Regions from separate parts of the Homo sapiens genome. Here all the other regions are linked to region 6. Evidence: promoter capture Hi-C in 16 types of primary human blood cells and fetal thymus (Javierre and others, 2016). All regions are on one chromosome and are shown on one strand. Each heading gives the region's core, a stretch centred on a gene start or on the middle of the fragment in contact. The rest is flanking DNA. Distances are from core to core; before and after follow the strand shown.

Evidence for each region. Contacts are between HindIII fragments. The CHiCAGO score rates a contact against its expected background, and 5 or more counts as called.
Region 1: a contact is called between a fragment that was not itself captured here and the fragment with the promoter of DNAJA2 in region 6, in 5 of 17 cell types (fetal thymus, total CD8 T cells, naive CD8 T cells and 2 more). The highest score is 16.5, in fetal thymus.
Region 2: a contact is called between a fragment that was not itself captured here and the fragment with the promoter of DNAJA2 in region 6, in 2 of 17 cell types (naive CD8 T cells and non-activated CD4 T cells). The highest score is 6.5, in naive CD8 T cells.
Region 3: a contact is called between a fragment that was not itself captured here and the fragment with the promoter of DNAJA2 in region 6, in 1 of 17 cell types (naive CD8 T cells). The highest score is 7.8, in naive CD8 T cells.
Region 4: a contact is called between a fragment that was not itself captured here and the fragment with the promoter of DNAJA2 in region 6, in 1 of 17 cell types (fetal thymus). The highest score is 7.1, in fetal thymus.
Region 5: a fragment that was not itself captured here is called in contact with the fragment with the promoter of DNAJA2 in region 6 in 2 of 17 cell types (total CD8 T cells and naive CD8 T cells); the score reaches 5.6 in total CD8 T cells.
Region 7: a fragment that was not itself captured here is called in contact with the fragment with the promoter of DNAJA2 in region 6 in 1 of 17 cell types (activated CD4 T cells); the score reaches 8.7 in activated CD4 T cells.

The regions. Positions count from the first base shown.
Region 1 is chr16:48,386,035-48,389,167 of GRCh38, forward strand. It overlaps a transcript of SIAH1 not described here. Among named protein-coding and RNA genes, the nearest start is that of SIAH1, 2.2 kb to the left of the region's middle. The HindIII fragment of the contact is 2,583 bases long and covers 1-2,548 here.
Region 2 is chr16:48,303,027-48,306,184 of GRCh38, forward strand. It overlaps LONP2 (lon peptidase 2, peroxisomal), which reads left to right. Exons shown (of 15, transcript NM_031490.5): 11 at 146-279. Among named protein-coding and RNA genes, the nearest start is that of ABCC11, 57 kb to the left of the region's middle. The HindIII fragment of the contact is 4,768 bases long and covers 1-3,158 here.
Region 3 is chr16:48,326,913-48,329,863 of GRCh38, forward strand. All of the region lies in intron 11 of LONP2 (lon peptidase 2, peroxisomal), which reads left to right. Among named protein-coding and RNA genes, the nearest start is that of SIAH1, 57 kb to the right of the region's middle. The HindIII fragment of the contact is 4,980 bases long and covers 1-2,951 here.
Region 4 is chr16:48,623,724-48,626,729 of GRCh38, forward strand. All of the region lies in intron 1 of LOC105371240 (a long non-coding RNA gene), which reads left to right. Among named protein-coding and RNA genes, the nearest start is that of N4BP1, 15 kb to the left of the region's middle. The HindIII fragment of the contact is 3,519 bases long and covers 1-3,006 here.
Region 5 is chr16:48,354,708-48,357,949 of GRCh38, forward strand. LONP2 (lon peptidase 2, peroxisomal) reads left to right here. Exons shown (of 15, transcript NM_031490.5): 15 at 1-2,642. Among named protein-coding and RNA genes, the nearest start is that of SIAH1, 29 kb to the right of the region's middle. The HindIII fragment of the contact is 833 bases long and covers 1,235-2,067 here.
Region 6 is chr16:46,972,223-46,975,127 of GRCh38, forward strand. DNAJA2 (DnaJ heat shock protein family (Hsp40) member A2) reads right to left here and starts at 1,452. Exons shown (of 9, transcript NM_005880.4): 1 at 1,273-1,452. The coding sequence starts at 1,350. DNAJA2-DT (DNAJA2 divergent transcript) reads left to right here and starts at 1,550. Exons shown (of 2, transcript NR_186372.1): 1 at 1,550-1,903. RefSeq lists silencers at 324-403, 754-823, 854-903, 1,054-1,133, 1,164-1,213 and enhancers at 1,644-1,713, 1,774-1,863. The HindIII fragment of the contact is 5,496 bases long and covers 104-2,905 here.
Region 7 is chr16:48,602,541-48,605,728 of GRCh38, forward strand. The region is part of intron 1 of N4BP1 (NEDD4 binding protein 1); the gene reads right to left. Among named protein-coding and RNA genes, the nearest start is that of N4BP1, 6.0 kb to the right of the region's middle. The HindIII fragment of the contact is 6,554 bases long and covers 1-3,188 here.

The sequences.
Region 1 (3,133 bases), core at 7-2,506, 1.4 Mb after region 6:
CACGCGTTTTCCTGTGTCCATGCTCATCTGGAAAGTCCCTAATTAGGGACTCTGCATTCCACTTCTTGAAATAATAAAAGGAAAACATCACTTGCAATTCTTTGATGGGTGCTATGAGCAGAAGCAAGCATCTGAGACATTTACAAGCCCTAACTGGAATTCCATGTAAGATCTATTAAAATGGTATTCCGTCCGGACGCGGTGGCTCACGCCTGTAATCCCAGCACTTAGGGAGGCCGAGGCCGATGGATTACCTGAGGTCAGGAGTTCGAGAGTAGCCTGGCCAACATGGTGAAACCCTATCTCTACTAAAAATACAAAAATTAGCCGGGCGTGGTGGTGCACGCCTGTAGTCCCAGCTACTCGGAGGCTGAGGCAGGAGAATCGCTTGAACCCGGGAGGCAGAGGTTGCAGTGAGGCAGAGATCAGGCCATTGCACTCCAGCCTGGACAACAGAGCGAGACTCTGTCTCAAAAAAATAAAAATAAAAATAGAAAAATCCCATACCGGGCACGTATGTACAAATTCCCAGTGTATGATAAAGTTTATATGTGCAAAACACTAGTTTACAGTATTCCTAATTACATGATTTAAACTGCAATTTTACTTTCACATTTTTGGGGAGAAGTTATAGCTCCTCAGTACACGGGAAGGTCAATAGAGTTCGGTTCACTTCAGTTTAGAGGTAAATTTTCCATTTTTACAGACTATGTGCTTGGCATAGCCATGTGGCCTTGACCTGGTCGTGAAGGGCAGAGGAGTTCTGTCCTGGGCGAGGAGCAGCTCTGGGGTGAGATGTGTTTCTCGCCCCCAGAACCCCTGGGCCGCTCTGCAAGCAGTGAAATGGATACGGACTAAGAGAGAACTTGCCAACGTGGCGATTAAAGTTCTAAACACCCGGCTTTGCCAAAGTCAGATTTTGTCCTCCTTATCCCGCATCCCTTCCTCTACCCAACAGCATTTGTCCATCTGAAAATAACAGTCTGTCTCTGGCCCACTGCTGACAGTCGAGGACTTACCTTATAAACTAGTGGATTCTCTTAAACTGCAGGGGTGCCCAGGACACAGTGTCCCCTGAGGATGCCGCACACCAGTCTTGAAGTGCTGGATCGTTGACGTCAGGCACCCAGAAGCAACTTCTGCCTCTGGAATTCTCAAACGTGCTTTTCTTGGCTTAGTTTGTGCCTGCTCTCCTCTAGAAGAGTCCAAGTTACTTCTTACTTTCCCCACTTCCCTTTTATACAAAACAAATTTAATCGGGTTAATTCCATCTCTGAGAATTCCTACCTAGATTTGGGCGGGGCTCAATCTGATTTGGTTAATTCTGGGTGGTAGCTATGGGTGGGACATAAACATCACCATTATAAATTTAATTTACTCCCCCTCTCAAAAAAATGTACCTTCCATTTGAAAGAAAATAGCTCCACTGTGGGGGTAACTAAGCACCTTTTCTGAACAGGGAGTTGACTCTGCTTCCTTGACAGTTTATCCATAGAAAAGCATTTTGTAAACTGTAAAGCCTATCCAAATAATCCTCCAATTGATGGGATTTCAGTAACGGTGACAAATATTTTCAGGCCACATCTGGATAGGGAGCCTTCCTGGTCCCCTCAAATCACATCAAATGGTAATTCCATCTATTGCAATGGAACATAACGCTCTGGTCCTGCATCTGGCCCGTAGTTAAGGTACCAGTGATGTAAATTACTTTCCTCTTATGAATAAAACAGGCACTGGCCAGGCACGGTGGCTCACACCTGTAATCCCAGCACTTTGGGAGGCCAAGGCAAGAGGATCGCTTGAGGCCCAGAAGTTCCAGACCAACCTAAGAACATAGCAAGACCCCGTCCCTATAAAAAGTTTAAAAATTAGCCCGGCAGGGTGGTGTGCGCCTGTAATCTCATCTAATCAGGAGGCCAAAATGAGAGGATTGCTTGAACCTGGGAATTTGAGGCCATAGTGAGCTATGATTGTGCCCCTGCACTCCCATCTGGGTGACAGAGGGACACTCCATCTCTAAAAACATAAAAATAAATGAATAAATAAAACAGGCACTGATGAGAGTATCTTTATTTGGGGGTTTTGCTATGAATTTATATTAAATTGATATTTATTTATTTATTTATTTTGTAATCTCGGCTCACTGCAACCTCCATCTCCTGGGTTCAAGCGATTCTTGTGCCTCAGCCTCTCAGATAATGCTGTCAAAGTTGGCTAAACTAGTTAAGACTGAACAGATGATTTCCAAGTGTCTTCATGTCAATATAGTTATTTTACAATAGACCAGTTCACAAGACCAAACCCATCTATTGAATCACCGATGGGCTGTGTTTGTTTCCAGGCAATCACAGATGTCTCTTGCCCAGGAAACTATAGCTATCTCCTCTTACATTAAACCACTGATACCCATTTGTCATTCAGCTTAGGTGGATAGGTCTGGAAACATATTAGCATTCCCTTCCAAGCCTGGCTCTGCTGGTAGCGAAACAGAATCTTTTTCAGCCTGGAAACTGGAAGGCGGTTCCTCCCTCCCAAATAGACTCCTATAAGCTTTGCAAAGGAAAGCAGGTCCCCAACTTGTCAGACATGCCTACAGCAGAGCAGAAACAATGTTTTCTTTATCAGACACACCTGTTGCCAGTCACTGTCTGAGGTTGGTGAATGTGTTAAACAGTATCCCAAACAAATTTTCCTGGACATGGTGGAGAAGTTAGAGACACAACATGAGCATCCAAGAATGAAACAGGAAGTAGCTGAAGGAAGTTCCCAAAAGCCCAAGTGGTTGGGAAATGAGTTCGCCCATAACTGTAGTTTTCCTTCAATATAATCAAGTTTCTTTAGGAAAAAGGTTACATGCTAGGCATCACATTTTTCAAGAAGTTAGAGCCGGGCACGGTGGCTCACGCCTGTAATCCCAGCACTTTAGGAGGCCAATGCCTGCAGATCACCTGAGGTCAGGATTTGGAGACCAGCCTGGCCAACATGGTGAAACTTCGTCTCTACTAAAACTACAAAAATTAGCCAGGTGTGGTGGTGGATGCCTGTAATCTCAGCTACTCGGGAGGCTGAGGCAGGACAATCACTTGAACCCAGGAGGTGGAGGTTGCAGTGAGCAGAGATCACACCACTGCAC
Region 2 (3,158 bases), core at 252-2,751, 1.3 Mb after region 6:
GTTTTAAGTGTGGAAAAGTTAGTACTCAAGAAAGGGTAATGAACTTTTAAATGTACACTGTTTTACCAAAAATGTTAATCACATTACCTCTCTATTTTTTTAAGTGGTATATAGTCAAAAATAAAATATTTTTGTTTGATGACAGGTATACCAGAGAGGCAGGGGTTCGTTCTCTGGATAGAAAACTTGGGGCCATTTGCCGAGCTGTGGCCGTGAAGGTGGCAGAAGGACAGCATAAGGAAGCCAAGTTGGACCGTTCTGATGTGACTGAGAGAGAAGGTTGGTGACCTTGTTCTGGCATTCTCAGGCCTGGTGGCTAGGAGTGAGTGACAGAAGAAGGTTGGGTATGGAGGGGAAGGTGTTGGGTAGTCCTTGGAGCAGTGGCACACATGACTCCACTGTTAAATGCATCCAGTAAGTAATACCTTAATGTTTCAACATATTTCATCCAGAGGATTGTCTTTTACAAATAGCACAGTTTTAACTGGAATAATAATATGAATGCTTTGAGGATATAGGAACTGTATTAGGGTTCACTAGAGGGACAAGACTAATAGGATAGATGTGTATATGAAGAAGAGTTTAAGGAGTATTAACTCACACAATCACATGGTGAAGTCCCACAATAGGCCATCTGCAGGCCGAGGAGCAAGGAAGCCAGTCCAAGTTCCAAAATCTCAAAAGTAGGGAAGCCGACAGTACAGCCTTCAGTCTGTGGCCGAAGCCCCAAGAGCCCCCAGCAAACCACTGGCGTACGTTCAAGAGTCCAAAAGTTGAAGAACTTCGAGTCCAATATTCGAGGGCAAGAAGCATCCAGCACGGGAGAAAGCTGAAGGCCAGAAGATTCAGCAAGTCTGATCCTTCCAGCTTCTTTTCTCTGCTTTATTCTAGCCATGCTGGAAGCTGATTAGATGGTGCCCACTCAGATTGAGGGTGGGTCTGCCTCTCCTAGTCCGCTGACTCAAATGTTAATCTCCTTTGACTATATCCTCACAGACACACTGGAACAATACTTTGCATCCTTCAATCCAAAGTTGAAACTCACTATTAACCATCACAGTAACTTTCTCCAGATGTATAATGATGGTGTACGTTATGTATGGGTTCTGGTGTTATCTTATTTCTTTCTGACCCAGACAGTTAAGTCTTTAAATAATTTATAACATAAAAAGTTTTTACAACATAAGACAATCCATGCTGTTCAGGTACTGCAAGGACAGACCTTTGTACTCTGGAATAGCTCCATGTGTAATAATTTTTCACACATTTTCTTTTATGGATAAACAACTAAATGTAATTTAAATTATTCTTTAAAAAATTATTGTGAAGGTGTTCTATTACTGGAATTAATCAAATGTGGATGTTCCTTTGGTATCTACTTAAAATGTTTTAACTGGCCAGGCACAGTGGCTCATGCCTTTGATCCCAGCACTTTGGAAGGTTGAGGCAGGCAGATGACTTGAGGTCAGGAGTTTGAGACCAGCCTAGCCAACACGGTGAAACCCCGTCTCTACTAAAAATACAAAAATTAGCCAGGCGTGGTGTTGGGCGCCTGTAGTCCCCGCTACTCTGGAGGTTGAGGCAGGAGAATCGCTTGAGCCCAAAAGTCAGAGGTTGCAGTGAGCAAAGGTCATGCCCACTGCACTCCATCTGGGCAACGGAGCGAGACTCCATCTCAAAAAAATAAATAAGTAAATAAAATAAAATGTTTTAATTTCTTGCCCCAAAACTGTAAGGGGTCTCAGTTCATCATATCATGCTGTTATGCAGTTTGCCAAAACTTGCTTTAACAAACATGAGTTGTAGGGAATTGACAATTTCTTTCATAGTAAAGAGATTTATTAGATTTTTCTATCATTTCCATAGCTGTTTCCAGAAAGGAGTTGGATGACTGTGATTAAAGAACCATAATTTATGGTGGACCCAGTTGAACAGACACAGCCAAATGTCTTTCTTGTTTTTCCATCAGTCGCTGAACACAGTGCATTTTACAGCAGTAGCATCAGAGTCAGCTTTCACAGAATCCTTCTGTGGCCAGTACAGTGCTTCACCCCTGCCTCCCCACGCCTGGAACCTCACTGGTTCATTTTCTCCAGAGAGCGAAGCTCCTATCTTCTGTTGGATTGGAGGGAGGCAGTGCCTTCATTATGTGGAGTAGGAGTAGAGGTAGTGAGTTCTAATTGTATTTTATCCAGACTTTAAAACTTGTGCTTTATTTTTATTATTTTTATTTTATTTTACTTTTTGAGATGGAGTCTCGCTCTGTCGTCCAGGCTGGACTGCGGTGGCACAATCTTGGCTCACTGCAACCTCCGTCTCCGAGGTTCAAGTGATTCTCCTGCCTCAGCCTCCCCAGTAGCTGGTACTGTAGACGGATGCCACCACGCCCGGCTAATTTTTGTATTTTTAGTAGAGACAGGGTTTCACCATGTTGGCCAGGCTGGTCTTCAACTGCTAACCTCAGGTGATCTGCCCACCTTAGCCTGCCAAAGTGCTGGGATTACAGGTGTGAGCCACTGCGCCTGGCTTTATTTTTATTTTTTATTTTTACTCTGCCTTGGGAGAATCTAGAAAACTTTTGCCTTTTGTCCCACTCTTCATCCATGCTTTCAGGGCTACCTTGAATTCTTTAGCTTTTGTAGACTTTTAGGACCCACATCAACTTGTTGTTCTCTATCTCTAGCCCCACAAATGTTGAGGTTTCTGCTTTCTCTAGCCTGTTAAGTGTTGGTTACTTTTTGTCCATGTACTTTTTGTTTCCCAAAATTTTGTCAGCATCTCTTGTCAGCTGATGTCCTCTTTGTCATTATTTTTGTTCTTGTGGGTTTATATATTTTTTATTTCTTAATTGTCATTTTAATACTATTCAGACAGGAAGTAAAAACGCATGCTCAGACTACCATTTATAGAAATTTGAATTTAAAAAAAATGTCCTAGGTGAGGGAGTACCTATCAAGGGTGGAAATCACTTGTGTAGATGACAGTGACAGTGGAGAACTGAAGTCTATAAAAGTTAAGACCTAGATCTAGATGCTCCTGAATTTCCCCTTTTTATTCTTAACAACACTTCCTTTGTGCTGTGATCTCAAGCAACTGAGCCTAGGTCTTTTTATTCTTGTCTGATATAACAGAAGGTAGAGGATGAAATAAATGAGTTT
Region 3 (2,951 bases), core at 411-2,910, 1.4 Mb after region 6:
TGACTGTGTCCAAGTGATAGCTGCTTGCTTAGGAAAAGCCTGGTCCTTCCCCAGAGGAGTCTGTCCCTATAGGACTTCCCTCCATAATAGCTGTGCTTCCATCAGCTCTAGAGGATGGCTTAGCCCCCTTCGGGGGTACACCGCATTTCACTCTCACTTGGCTCACAGCCATCACCACAGTCCATGCTGTGAGTGCATTGCTGGTTCTGCCCCCGTGCTGTGTGCATCTCTGCTGCTTTAATGCTGGGAAACTCCGTGGTTATGCCCCAACTATCTTGGCAATGTTCTGAATCAGACATAGATAATACCTATTAAAGGTATTAATAGGCCAATAATACCTAGTAAAGAAGAGCTGGGATATACCTCTGCATAGATTAAATCAACTAGAAAACACTAGCCCCCTCCCATTTTCAGACCGATTTTATTTCTTTTAAGTGGGAAAATAGTCGAAGTGGGATGAAGCAGAGCTAGCTTATTCTACTCATTTTATATTTCTGTGGCCTTTTCAACCTCTGTTTAACAGCACTTTATTACTTAGTTTTTTTGTTTTGTTTTGTTTTTTTGGGATGGAATCTCACGTTGTCGCCCAGGTTGGAGTGCAGTGGCATGATCTCGGCTCACTGCAACCTCCACTTCCCGGGTTCAAGCGATTCTCATGTGTTAGCCTCTCAAGTAGCTGGGATTACAGGCACCTGCCACCAGGTCCGGCTAATTTTTGTGTTTTCATTAGAGATGGGGTTTCACCATGTTGGCCAGGCTGGTCTCGAACTCCTCACCTCAGGTGATCTGCCCGCCTCAGCCTCCCAAAGTGCTGGGATTATAGGTGTGAACCACCACGCCCAGCCTCACTTTATTACTTTTAAGAATATGCTTCAAAATAGTTTGTAAAGAAGATTTTAATAGGGAGCACTTATATGAAATATAATAGTGATATATAGTATAGCATAGAGCAGAGTCTTCAGTCTTTGTATCTTTTTCTTTTTTTCTTATGCATATTTAATGTATGTGATTCCCAACCGTTGTGTGATTGTGGTCAGAGCCCTGTCTGTGGGATGCTGGGTAGAATGAGATTGTAGAGAGCACTTTGTTTTCTTGTAATTGAAGGGTTTGGGGTGAGAATATGTGAGTCATAGAAATCTGTATAGTAAATATTACTCTAAAAAGGGAGCCATCAGGATCTGGGAGAATTTGCTAAAGGAAAACTAAGAATGAAAAAAAGGCCAGGTACAGTGGCTCACTCCTGTAATCCCAACACTTTGAGAGGCCAAGGCAGGAGGACCTGAGGCCAGGAGTTCAAGACCAACCTGGCCAACATAGTGAAACCCCGTCTCTACTAAAAATACAAAAATTGGGCCGGGCGCGGTGGTTCACACCTGTAATCCCAGCACTTTGAGAGGCTGTGGCGGGTGAATCACGATATCAGGAGTTCGAGACTAGCCTGACCAACATGGTGAAACCCCGTCTCTACTAAAAATACAAAAATTGGGCCGGGCGCAGTGGCTCACACCTGTAATCCCAGCACTTTGAGAGGCCGTGGCGGGTGGATCACGATATCAGGAGTTCGAGACTAGCCTGACCAACATGGTGAAACCCCGTCTCTACTAAAAATACAAAAATTAGCCAGGCATGGTGACGTGTGCCTGTAATCTCAGCTTCTCAGGAGGCTGAGGCAGGAGAATCACTTGAACCCAGGAGGTGGAAGTTGCAGTGAGCCGAGATCACACCATTGCCCTCTAGCCTGGGTGACACGGGGACTCCGTCTCAAAAAAAAAAAAAAAAAAAATTGGCCAGGTGTGGTGGTACACACCTGTAATCCCAGCTACTTGGGAGGCTGAGGCATGAGAATCGCATGAACACAGACGGCAGAGGTTGCAGTGAGCTGAGATCACACCACTACGCTCCAGCCTCTGTCTCAAAAAAAAAAGGGGGGGAGGGGCGGTGGGGGGAGCGGGAGCCAGTATATAATTCAGTATCTCTCATCTATACATATTAAGGCTTTTGACCATTACCAAATTCTCCCAGCAGCTCTCTGAGAGTACTGTAATTCTGGTTTTGCTGATTAGAAAACCAGATACAAAGAGGTAAAGTCACCTTGTTCTAGGCCACTAGGTGGTAATCTGAGTCAGGACTGGAGACAATGATTTATTTTTAATATCTCATGTAATGTTAATCTCATAACTCAGGGCATAACTCTTTTACCATTTTGGACTATATCATTTCATTCATATGATAAAGACACTGTAGCTTCCCCCTCACCTGCAGCTTCACTTTCTGCAGTTTTAGTTACCTGTGGTCAACCATCGTCCAAAAATATTAACTGGAAAATTCTAGAAATAATCCACTCGTAAGTTTTAAATTGTGCACTATTCTGGGCAGTGTGATGAAATGTCGAGCCATCCTGCTCTGTGTGACCCTGGACAGGAAGCCTCTCTTTGTCCAGCATATCCATGCTGTATGACTCCCGCCCCTTTAGCCACTCAGCAGCCATCTCACTTACCAGATCAACTGTCTTGGTTTCAGGGTGTTTGTGTTCAAGTAACCCTTCCTTTACTTAATAATGGACCCAAAGCCAAGAGCAGTGATGCTGGCATTCTGGGTTTATTTTATTAGTATTGTTGTAAATCTCTTACTTTGCTTAATTTATAAATTAAACATGATCATAAGTACATATCTATAGGGAAAAAATGGTATATATAGGGTTCTGAACCATCCTGCATTTCAGGTATCCACCGTGGGTCTGGAAATGTATCGCCTGTGGAGAAGGGGTGACTACTGTGTATGTAAAAATCACCCTGTGTGAAATGTTATATCCTCCCCTTTCCTCAGTTTAACGTTGTTTTGAAAGAATTTTCTCACATTACTTGAAAACACTTAGGAAACCATTTTTAGTGACTGTAGTATTTTACCAGTTAGATATGCCATGGTTTACTTAACCATGTTCCTAATGTTGG
Region 4 (3,006 bases), core at 442-2,941, 1.7 Mb after region 6:
ATGTGGAGAGAGCAGCTGGGGAGGTGGGGGAGTGCATCAGAAGCTCAGTAAAATGCAACGGGGACTTTGCACCCTCTTTTTGCTGCTTCAAGTGGACAGAAGGTGATCAGATGTCAGAGCGGGGAGGGCGACTTCCTCCATCCCTACCCCCGCCCTCAGGTCACATGAGGGAAATTACTCCCCAAAGCTCTCTTTCTTAACACTGTCTGGTGATGACTCCAGAACTTCTCAGCATCTAGAACGACAACCTTAGCACGTCAGTCTGCCTGGGCCTGCCACCTCCGGAGGCCCAGAAGTGACACCGAAGGACACAGGGCATCTCCATCTAGCTGTTCTCAGCTTTGATGTGCCCGAATTAAAGGGGTAGGGTGGGCTGGGAGCGGTGGCTCACGCCTGTAATCCCCGCACTTTGGGAGGCCTTGGGCGGGGGGGGGGGGGGGCGCGGATCACGAGGTCAGGAGTTCGAGACCAGCCTGGCCAACATAGTGAAACCCCGTCTCTACTAAAAATACAAAAATTAGCAGGGCATGGTGGCGCGTGCCTGTAGTCCCAGCTACCCGGGAGACTGAGGAAAGAGAATCGCTTGAACCCGGGAGGCGGAGGTTGTGGTGAGCAGAGATCCGCCACTGCACTCCAGCCTGGGTGATAGAACGAGACTCGACCTCAAAAAAAAAAAAAAAAAAAAGAGGGGCAGGGTGTTAAAATACAGTAGCAGTAGCTTAGGTTCCATCCACCTCTATTAGATTCTGGCTCAGTGGGTTTGGGGTGGGACTCTTGGCATGGATATTTTTAACAGGAACCCCAGGTGTTCCTGGTGCTCCATAGGTTGAGAACTCCTGCCCTGGCTTCCAAGGCACGCGCTTTGTCCAACATTCTTCCAAGTGCAGTGCAAAATAAAGAGTCACTGTGAACTCGCAGCGCTCTTGGGCTAGATTATGTGCTCCTTGCTTTACAAGAATTCTCATTTAATGCTCCCGGGAATGCTTTGATGGACATCATTTTCATGTGCATTTTGAAGAACGGGGAAGCCTGGGTAACATGGCGAAACCTTGTCTCTACCAAAAGTACAAAAACTAGCCAGACATGGCGCATGCCTGTAGTCCCAGTTACTCGGGAGGCTGAGATGGGAAGATTGCTGGAGCCGGGGAGGTCAAGGCTGCAGTGACCCGAGATTGAGCCACTGCACTATTCAGCCTGGGCGACAGAGCAAGACCCTGTCTTGAAAAAAAAAAAAAAAAAAAAGAATGGGGAGACAAAGACTTAGAGAACTTACTTGACTTTTCCAATGCCAGTAAATGGCAGGGACAGGATTTGAATTCAGTTCAGTATGATTTCAAGGTACATGTTCCCCTTTTTTTCTCTTTCCCAGTATAACAAGTCTCCTTACTCAACTGAAATAGACATCAATGATGTATTTGGGCATAATGATTTTTTTTTTCTTCTTTTTTTTCTAATTTGACTTTAAGTTCTGGGATACATGTGCAGAACGTGAAGGTTTGTTACACAGGTATACATGTGCCATGGTGGTTTGCTGCACCTATCAACCTGTCATCTAGGTTTTAAGCCCCACATGCATTAAGTATTTGTCCTAATACTCTCCCTCCCCTTACCCCCCATCCTCTGACACGCCCCGGTGTGTGATGTTCCCCTCCCTGTGTCCATGTGTTCTCATTGTTCAACTCTCACTTATGAGTGAGAACATGCAGTGTTTGGTTTTCTGTTCCTGTGTTAGTTTGCTGAGAATGATGGTTTCCAACTTTATCCATGTCCCTACAAAGGACATGATCACACTCTTTTTTATGGCTGCATAGTATTACATGCTGTATATATGCCACGTTTTCTTTATCCAGTCTATCATTGATGGGTATTTGGGTTGGTTCCAAGTTTTTGCTATTGTAAATAGTGCTGCAATAAACGTACGTGTGCATGTGTCTTTATGACAGAATGATTTATAATCCTTTGGGTGTATACCCGGTAATGGGATTGCTGGGTCAAATGGTATTTCTGGTTCTAGATCTTTGAGGAATCGCCACACTGTCTTCCACAATGGTTGAGCTAATTTACACCGTCACCAACAGTGTAAAAGCATTCCTATTTCTCCACATCCTCTCCAGCATCTGTTGTTTCCTGACTTTTTAATGATCACCGTTCTAACTGGCGTGAGATGGTATCTCATTGTGGTTTTGATTTGCATTTCTCTAATGACCAGTGATGATGAGCTTTTTTTCATATGTTTGTTGGCCACATAAATGTCTTCTTTTGAGAAGTGTCTGTTCATATCCTTCATCCAATTTTTAATGGGGTTGTTTGTTTTTTTCTCGTAAATTTGTTTCAGTTCCTTGTAGATTATGGATATTAGACCTTTGTCAGATGGATAGATTGCAAAAATTTTCTCCCATGCTGTAGGTTACCTGTTCATTCTGATGATAGTTTCTTTTGCTGTGCAGAAGCTCTTTAGTTTAATTAGCTCCCATTTGTCAATTTTGGCTTTTGTTGCCATTGCTTTTGGTGTTTTAGTCATGAAGTCTTTGCCCATGCCTATGTCCTGAATGGTATTGCCTAGGTTTTCTTCTAGGGTTTTTATGGTTTTAGGTTTTACATGTAAGTCTTTAATCCATCTTGAGTTAATTTTTGTATAAGGTGTAAGGAAGGGGTCCAGTTTCAGTTTTCTGCATATGGCTAGCCAGCTTTCCCAGCACCATTTATTAAATAGGGAATCCTTTCCCCATTGCTTGTTTTTGTTAGGTTTGTTGAAGATTAGATGGCTGTAGATGTGTGGTGTTATTTCTGAGGCCTCTGTTCTGTTCCATTGGTCTATATATCTGTTTTGGTATCAGTAGCCTTGTAGTATAGTTTGAAGTCAGGTAGCATGAGGGCATAATGATTTTTAAATTGATTTCTTAAATAGGCAACACAGGGCTGGGCGTGGTGGCTCACGCCTGTAATCCTAGTACTTTGGGAGGCTGAGGTGGGTGGATCACAAGGTCAGGAGATCGAGACCATCCT
Region 5 (3,242 bases), core at 401-2,900, 1.4 Mb after region 6:
ACTGGGGCAACTACTTTTCGCCCAGTGTCCTCCAGAAAAGAAAGATCTGGAGGGTCAGGCCACTCTTTTTCTTCAAAATAATGGGGTGCAGAAGGGTAGGGATGAACCTCTTCCTCCTTTGCCACTTTAGCTTTAGCTCAAAGGAACTCCAACTTTTTATTATTTGCAACAGTTAGCTTTCTTTGTTTCACATCTCTGCCTTGCAGAACCATGACCTATCAAGGTGTTTTGTCAAACAAAAACTAATACTTTCCCTGGGAAAAAGCCATGTGGTAGCAAGTACCAGAAATTTTTATGGCCAAATAATACACCACTATATCCATAGACCGCATTTGGTTTATCCACTCATCTGCTGATTGTTTCCCCCTCTTGGGTATTATGAGTAATGCTATGAACATGGGTGTACACATCTCTCTTGAAGTCCCTTCTTAGGTCCTTTAGGGATACATATCCAGGAGCAGAACTACTAGATCACATATGCTAAGGTCTGAATGTCCCCCCACCAAATTCGTATGTTGAAGCAACCACCAACGTGATAGGTGAGGCTTTAGGAGGTGATTATGTCATGAGAGCTCCATCCTCATTAATGGATTTAGTGCCTTTATAAAGGGGCTCAAGGGAACCAATTACCTCCTTTTTGCCCTTCGATTCCCTTCCACCATATGAGGACACAGCAACAGGCCCCGTCCTAGAAGCTGAGACTGGGCCCTCAATAGATGATACCAGTCTGCCAGCACGCTGATCGTGGGCTTCTCAGTCTTCACAACTATGAGAAATAAATTCGTACTTTTAAATTACCCAGTCTCAGGTATTCTGTTACGGTTAACACAAATGACTAAGACAACAGGATAATTCTGTTTAACTTTTTGAGAACTGCCAAACTTTTCCACCGCAGCTGCACCATTTGACATTCCTTCCAGCAATGCACAAATGTTCCAGTTTCTCCACATCCTTGCCAGCACTCATTTTCTGGGTTTTTTATAATAGCCCTCCAAATGGGTGTGACGTATTTTGATTCTATGTCCCTAATGACTAGTGATGTTGAGCATTTTCTAGCATTGATTTTTAAGATGTTACCCAAAGACCCCTTGTATCAAAATAAGCTGGATTTTTTTATTGAAAATTATTAACTCTAGAAATTTTAGTTTAAACTAGACTTAGGGATATGTGTATTTTACCGGTATTCCACGTTTTATGCATGGGTTTTTAAAACTTCTCAAGTATTAAAACTAAAAGCTTTAGGTGCTTTGCTTATCAAGAAATCCTACACTGTCCACTGGAGACATCCATGTTTTTACTTGGCTCTGCCCCTTTAGTGGTCCCTGTGAACCTTACCTCAAACCATGCATCTGGGGCAGAGATCCTTACTTGCTTGGTGGTTACAAATGCAAATACAGTGAAGAATGTCATCTTTGTGATTGTTCCTGAAATAGTTCACGAGAAATCCATGACCGTAAAGTACTGTGATAGTGATGTCTACCACTGTGAGCTTCCAGTACTAGGTGATTGGTCTGCATTCACAGTGACCAAAATCAGCTATGTGGCCAGGTAATTCACTGCTGAGGGCTTTGGATTTTCCTTTATGAACTACTGAAATGAGGTCAACTTGACTATTACTAAGGGACATTTTGCTACAAAGAATGTTAGTTTTGCCAATTCCCTTTCCAAATCTAAAATTTATTTTAACCAGGATTTTAGATGTAAACATCAAGTAGTTTTGGTTGTTTCAATGAAGTAACATGTTTAAGCTCACATTATTTGAAGTACTTCAGTTCCTATTGCCATGAAAATTGTATCCAGCAGCTAAAAAAAAAAAAAAAAAAAAAGACTACAGTTAGTCATTATCCAATTTGATGATTTATGGTCCAACACTAATGCTCATTTTTTTTGTTTGTTTTACAAACATTTGGTGGATACCACAATGAAAACTGCACTTAAAAAACAAAAATGCTGAAAGAGGAAGGAAATATCAAAAAGGTCTGAATAGACAACAGGCAAATATGGTGAGTGGTCATTGAGATGTTTTAAAAGTTACAGCAAAAGGACTTCTAAAACAATTTTAGGAAAAGCTTTGTCATGAAAATTCATTTCTTTGGAAATACTGTAGTTTGTACTTAATGACACTGTCAGCACATTTCTAGGCAATACAAACTCTTGAGGCTAAATCCTCATCCTGACATGACAGTGCAAGCCTGTCAAAATGTGACCCCAAAACCAGGTGTCCTTTTGCTCCATTATTTATATCTGTAAACCTGTTATTATTTTCAGAATTCAGAAAGGCCTAAGAAAATTACATCTATGATAATAAAGTGTATTTCTTTGTCAAGTTTCTAGAGCTATATAAGGATAGCGAAAATATTTGGTTCAGCAAGACACTGGGGTATCAAGTCAGGCATAATAAGCACTTTATAGCACATCTAGCCTTCCTCATTCCCTTACGCAGTGGACATCATACCCTTTTGTGGAGGAGGGACCAGGCAGAGAAGGTATTTAAATAAAAACTGGTAGATACAGAGTCAGAAGTCAACCCAGGCAGTTAGAATCTACAACCCACACTGTTTGCCACCAAATCTTAGTAGATGCTTGATAAGGAATTTTGTTTGGATGGTGCCATTTTTAGATAAACGTACGTTTCTTTTGGTAAATTCAGGTTAGGATCATAAGCAGTAAACTACCAAATACTCCTTTGTGCTTTGAACATGCACACTGGATGAGTGGGGAGGGGAATGACAAAGCTTCAAACTCCGGGTCTCTGTAACACTCTATCTGTACCTTTCATGTTTAACCTACACAAATACCACAGTCCTGCGTGGTAGTTCACACACACTATTCACCCTGTCGAGTTTCGACATTACTTTTATGTCCATTCTAATGCAGCAGTCACAGACTGACCCCCCAGGTATGTTGGATTTGATCCATTATTTTCTTAATTTGGATTACTTACCAATTCTTCTAATCAGGAGTGTGAATGAAATAGAATTCTACCATTAGTAGAATCACTGCAGATGTTTCTAAATATGAAGAGCTTTTGGGGGTTGGAGGCAGCACACTATTATTTTGGTGAGCTAAGCTATCTACAGCCACTTACATACGTTTGAAGTTTGCAGAAAGGTGGGTCTTAAAATCATACATATTACAATAAAAATTACTCACAAAGGAAAAACTGTTCCCCAAAAATTAACACACCAAACTGGCCCATGATTAAATAGGACAATTTCAAGTTTAAGGGTATAAAAGCAATA
Region 6 (2,905 bases), core at 202-2,701:
AAACGTTCAAACATTATCCATATTTTCCCTATTGTCAAGTGTCTTTGATGGCCAAGTAACCAGACCAAGACGACCCTAATAAATTCGAGATAAATGACTGTTAAGCTTTGCGGACTGCAAAACATTACTATAAATCAAGCTAAAGTCACAATTCCTGCTCCCGATGGCTCACGCCTTCCTTCTAACTGTAACATCATGAAAAAGTAAAGGTGGTCCTAGTTAGCGTCTTTTGGTGTTTTATTTGCACGTGGTGGTTAACTGGGGTCGTGGTGGCAACTTCGGTGGTAGAGAAGTTGCACACACTCTCAACGAGGTGTTTGGGTCCTAAAGCACTTAAATCTTCATTCACGGAGGCTCGTGAATTATATAATACAGACTAGCATTTCCGGTAAGGTAACAGGAAGTCCACTGTACTCTTCTCACTGCCTAAGGAGCATTCTCATTTTTCTCGGCTTACAAATCTGGATGCTCTTAGCCTGGTGAGGATGCTGTGGGGCTTAAATGCCTCGTGTGCTTTGAAATCCTGAGATGAAAGATATCGCAGCATTGCAAATAGCAATAATAAGGCCTTCTATTTATGTTTACTGTACACTCAGGCGTTTGGCTGGGACCACGGCTTATTCCTAAGCAGGTACAGGACATTAGCATTACCTGCCCAAAGAACAATGCATCCAAACACAGACCCAGCTACCTCCGGGTCAATGGGCGAGGGACGCAGAGAGGGAGGAGCTCCCGCAGCCGGCGGCCGCGGAACCCAGGAAACAACCCCATCCGCCCGAGGCGCTCTGTGGGGGCGGCCTCGACCTCCCCGCCGTTCCTCCCCGCGGAGCACCAGACCCGGGGCCGACGGCCGCGGGGCGGACAGCTTCTCTCTCGGGGCCGGGATGCGCTGAGCACCTCGGTCCAACCTGTTTTTCCGGGGTGGTGACCTCGACGCGAAGGACCGGGCGAGCTGCTGCCTCCCGGGGGATACCAGCCCCCGGCGCTCGTTCAAGGAGGGAGGAAGGAAGGGCTCCCATCGTGTTTGCGCAGGAGTGAGTTTTATTTGCTGCATCTGCGGGCGGGCGGGGCCGGCGGCCCCAAGGTCAGCCGAGGCCGGAGTGCGCGGCTCGCGGCGAGGCCGGTCCCGCCGCCGCCGCCGACTCCCAGCCCGGGCCAGTCACGGCCGGCGCCGGCTCGCGGGCAGCCCAGTAGCGCGGCCTGGCTGAAGAAGACATCCCTGGCCGCGCAGGCCCCGCGCCCCTCACACCCGCCCGGCCCGCTCCCAGATACCTTCTTCAGCTCGTTCTCGCTGGCGCCGGGCGGGACGCCCAGGATGTCGTACAGCTTCGTGTCAGCCACGTTAGCCATGGCGGCCGGCCGGGCAGTGCTCGGGGAGAAGGTGGCGAAGCAGACAGAGCGGAGTCGGGCCCACAAGCGGCGTCGGCGGCGGCACAGGCCGAGGGAGACAGCGAGGGGGAAGCGGGGGCGGGGCTGAACTTTGACCCAGCGCACGGTGCGCCGTGACGTCGCTGTGCAGAGCCCGCCCCCGAGCGCCCGAGGCGCGGCCACTGGGGTCGAAGTATTGAAGAGTGGGCCAGGTTCTCTGTTTTCCTCCAGGTCCAGGCGGCTGGGCAGGGCCAACGTAGGAAATGAAGAACTGTGCACGGCGCACCCCAGGAATTCAGCTTCCTCTCAAAAGCCATGGTTGCGAGGTCGCGTGTTTAACCTCGCACTGGCTGCTGAGGGAATTAACAGGCCTGCGCAGCAGCTTCGTTAGCTTCGAAAGAAAATGGGCCCCGGCTCCCGCAGGAGGCCCGCCTGGCGCGCAGATGTCGTTATTAGAATCCGGGACGTCGGTGGACCCTCTGGGTCTGGCTCCCTCGGGGCTTACGATGAAAAAAACTGGGGGGCGCGTGTGTGTGTATGTTGTGTTTTATATTATGAGAATTCTGAAACATTTAGCAGAAGCAGTATATTACTCCCCATAGTGCAGTTAGCTACCTTTTACCTGTTTCATTGGCTCCACCATACATTTCTAGTGTTTTAAGGGAAACCGTTTCATTCATAAATACCCTAAGTGTATATATTTAATATCTAAGAGACAACTTTTAAAGGCATAACGATGTAATCTCATCTAATGAAATTAACAATTCCTTAATCTAATTCCCAGTCCATATTTAGGTTTTTCAGATGATCTCATGTCCTTTTACAATTGGTTTGTGGCATCCGGGTCCAAACCAAGGTCCACATGTTGCATCTGGACCACGTGTTTAAGCCTCTTACTTGATAGCTTTAAAATTAGCTAACACCAGAGGTTTAGATGGTGTAAGGCAAGTCTGGCCACCAGGTGACTTGATTTACATTCGTTTTAGTTTCGCTCAGAAAGTATGCTGTGCATCTACCAAGTGCTATGATGTACAGAGGCCTGGTCCGGGGAGAGGAGTGTTACAAAAGTGCCTGCCTTCAACCCATTTACGGTTTATGGAGACAGAAAAGTAAGGTTTTCTGATCCCTTGGAACCTGAACTGATAGCAAAGACTTCAGCATAAGCATCTCACTCAGGATAATGTTTCTTCCTTGGCGTTCCCTTTGACCTAGTTGTGGAGGGCCTGAATTCCATGACAAGGACTCTGAAATTTAGCTTGAAAACCCTAAGAGTAATCAGTGATAAGTCATTAATAGTCCTTAAACCCTTTTCCTCAAATCCCATCTGAAATCCTGCTCCCTCTGTGAAGTCTTCCTTTACTGGGCACTGGTGAACACTGCTATCTCATTCGAGTTCCCACCACCCTTCGTTTGTACCTTTTGTGGTAGGATCTCGAACTCTTTTGTTTTTTTTTTTTTTTTTTTTTTTTTACTTGAAACAGCGTCTCGTTATGTCGCTCAGGCTGGAGTGCAGTGGCGCCATCTCAGCTCGCTGCAA
Region 7 (3,188 bases), core at 638-3,137, 1.6 Mb after region 6:
TGTCAGCCATAAGAAGAGACTGAACAAACCACTGTTTCTTAAGAAGATGATTTTCACAACCATAGTGAGTAAAAAATATTCTGGGAAGTGCAAAAAAGGCCACCAACCTTCTTCCTGGTAAAATCAAAACAAAAACTCCATGTCACTACCCAGTATTACATCTATGAATTCTTTCCTTCATGAACAAATCAATTGTTCAAGAATTCATGAAACCTACCTGGGCAACATGAGGAAACCCCATCTCTATAAAAAATAAAAATAAATAAATAAATAAATAAATAAATAAATAAATAAAAGCCCAGCATGGTGGCACATGCCTATAGTCCCAGCTACTCAGGAGGCTGAGGTGGGAGGATCACTTGAGCCTGGGAGGGCAAGGCTGCAGTGAGCTGAGATCACACCACTGCACTCCAGCCTGGTGACAGAGCCAAACCCTATCTCACACACACACACGCACGCACACGCATAGAAAAATTCATGAAACCAGGTACCAGGCTCTTCTAACTGAAAAGGTAGTAAAACAGTACCTGGTCAACTTGAACCCTCTGAAGTCAGTACTGTAATAGGCCACTTCTACTTTAATTACATTTTTTTTTCATTCTTACCTTACTCCATAAATACATAAGTAAAAACTGGGAAAAGGTCAATTACTAGCTGTTCTTAAACACCCTTTTTCTCACAAATTAAAAATGGACTGGGTGGTAGCCTGCCTGAGTTTCATGGGTGCACTGTAACGTCAATGTTTTAAGACTGAGTAGTCCTTCCCAGGACTCTGCTTGAAGTCCTCCAGGCTGGTACTGTTTAGGGCACTGGCTAGGCCTCTCGGTGGCTACTCACTGCCATCAAGTAATGCCTGAAGCTAAGCATCAACTGATGGGCAGCTGTGGTCAGTGAACTCCACACCTTAAAGGTTCATGGAGACGCCAAACAAGTAGCTGTGCCATTTACTTCCAATTACTTCTTTTATTTGTTAACCAGCCAGGCTTCACTGACTGTTAGCACCCAGTTTCTTGCTATGGACTTTGGTGACCCCAGCATAGCACTAGCTCCAGATACTTCACATTGCCATCTCCTCTACTTTCTCACTTCTCTAAGATGTATGGAACACTTGTAGCTCACCCACAACTACTGAGGCACCCCTTGGCCCTCAGAGTCATCCTCAGAATTCCTTTACATCCAAGATTCTAAGCTCCGAAATTACTCTGATTACAACCTCCAGAATTCTCCAATACTTAACTTCCCTGTGTACATGACCCCCTGGGTTTCAGAGGGCACAGGGTCAAAGGTCTTGTCCCTCCCTTAATCCTTGCAGCTCACTCCGCCCTTTCTGCTCTCATCTGTTTCCCTGTCCTAGCTTGAACAAGGCTGACCTCTTCAGAAATATTTCCTAAGCCCCACTGTGCCTTGCTCTATTGCACTTCAGACCCCCTTACCTCCAATCCTTGTGTCCTGGCTTCACAAACCTCTTGAGTGGAGGAAAACATTACCTACTTGAGAGTTTCTGGCTCAAGTGACACTGTAAGTTCATACTATCTAACCTTCCTTGGCCCTTACTTCATCCCAGTCCTTTTAAGTTCTTAAGTTTTCAGTCTGCAGCAGTTCCACTGCACCTAACACATCCCACTATTTTGGAGCTCTTGCGCTCCCTCTGGGGATGAACTAGCACTGAGACTGTACTGTACGCCACTGGGGCCTTCAAATGCCCTCTTCAAGTATTAGAAACATATGGGCTAGGCATGGTGGCTCATGCCTGTAATCCTAGCACTTTGGGATGCTGAGGTGGGAGGATCATTTGAGCTCGGGAATTCAAGATTAGCCAGGGCAGCATAGTGAGATGCCATCTCTACCAAAAATACAAAAATACACCATGGGCATGGTGGCACATGCCTGTAGTCCCAGCTACTCAGGAGGCCAAGAGGATCGCTTGAGCCTGGGAGGCAGAGGTTTCAGTAAGCTGAGATCATACCACTGCACTCCAACCTAGGGACCCTGTCTCAAAAAGGCAGTCCAAAGCTCAGGTCAAAAAAACAAAACAAACAAACAAAAAAAAACAAAAAAAGGTAAAAAAAAAAACAAAAACAAAAACTAAATTAAAACAAAACGAAACAAAGCTCAGGTCCACTGACATGTTTTGTTTAGCACATATAACTGTTTTTTTAAAATATGTAGTTTAAAAATATTTTATTCATATAATTCGATGAATTCGATGTGTATGATTTTTAAAATGTAAATTAGTGACCACTTAAATACAATATTTTATATAATTAAATCTGGATTCCTTGCTTCTCTTAGATAATAAGACTGGACATCACTGAGCCCTACCATGTAACTGACTAATGCGATACGCATGGGAAGCTGCCCTCTCCAAAAGGGCCACACGGCTTCATTCACCACAGTCCCTCTTCCCGACCACCCCACTTCCCTACACAGGTTCCCTGCCTGGTCCCAGGAAGCATTCTGAGTTTGTGGTTCTTTGATCTAAAAGAAGGGTTCTTTTTTTTTTTTTCTCAAGACAGAGTTTTGCTCTCGTTGCCCAGGCTGGAGTGCAATAGCGTGATCTTGGTTCACCGCAACCTCCGCTTCCCTGGTTCAAGCAATTCTCCTGCCTCAGCCTCCTGAGTAGCTGGGATTACATGCATGCGCCACCCCACCTGGCTAATTTTGTAATTTTAGTAGAGACAGGGTTTCTCCATGTTGGTGGGCTGGTCTCGAACTCCCGACCTCAGGTGATCAGACCACTCGGCATCCCAAAGTGTTGGGATTACACAGGCGTGAGCCACTGCGCCCGGCCTAAAAGAAGAATTCTAACTCGTCTCACCCCCACGGCTGAGATCCCCTCAACCTCATCCCTTTCCACCACTGCTTCACAGGGAGGGTCCCACCTCTGCTTCTTCACTTTAATCTCTATTTGCGAATGAGGCAACAGCTAGCCAGTACCTCCCTTTTGTCTCTGAAATTCAATCCTCACAATCCTTTGCTCCCAAGATGTCTTCCAGCACTGACTTCTTTCCCCTCTCTCTGGGCCCCCTATGGACAATGCCCTCTTATAAGGACTTCTCACTCTTAGACATTGCCTCTCTAGCCCCTGTATTAATGCCAAATTGCATAAAAGTTACTCAACCCTTATTTTCAATTTCTGTACTCTTACTATTGAAAACCAGCAACAGACCACACTGAGCAGCCCCAGC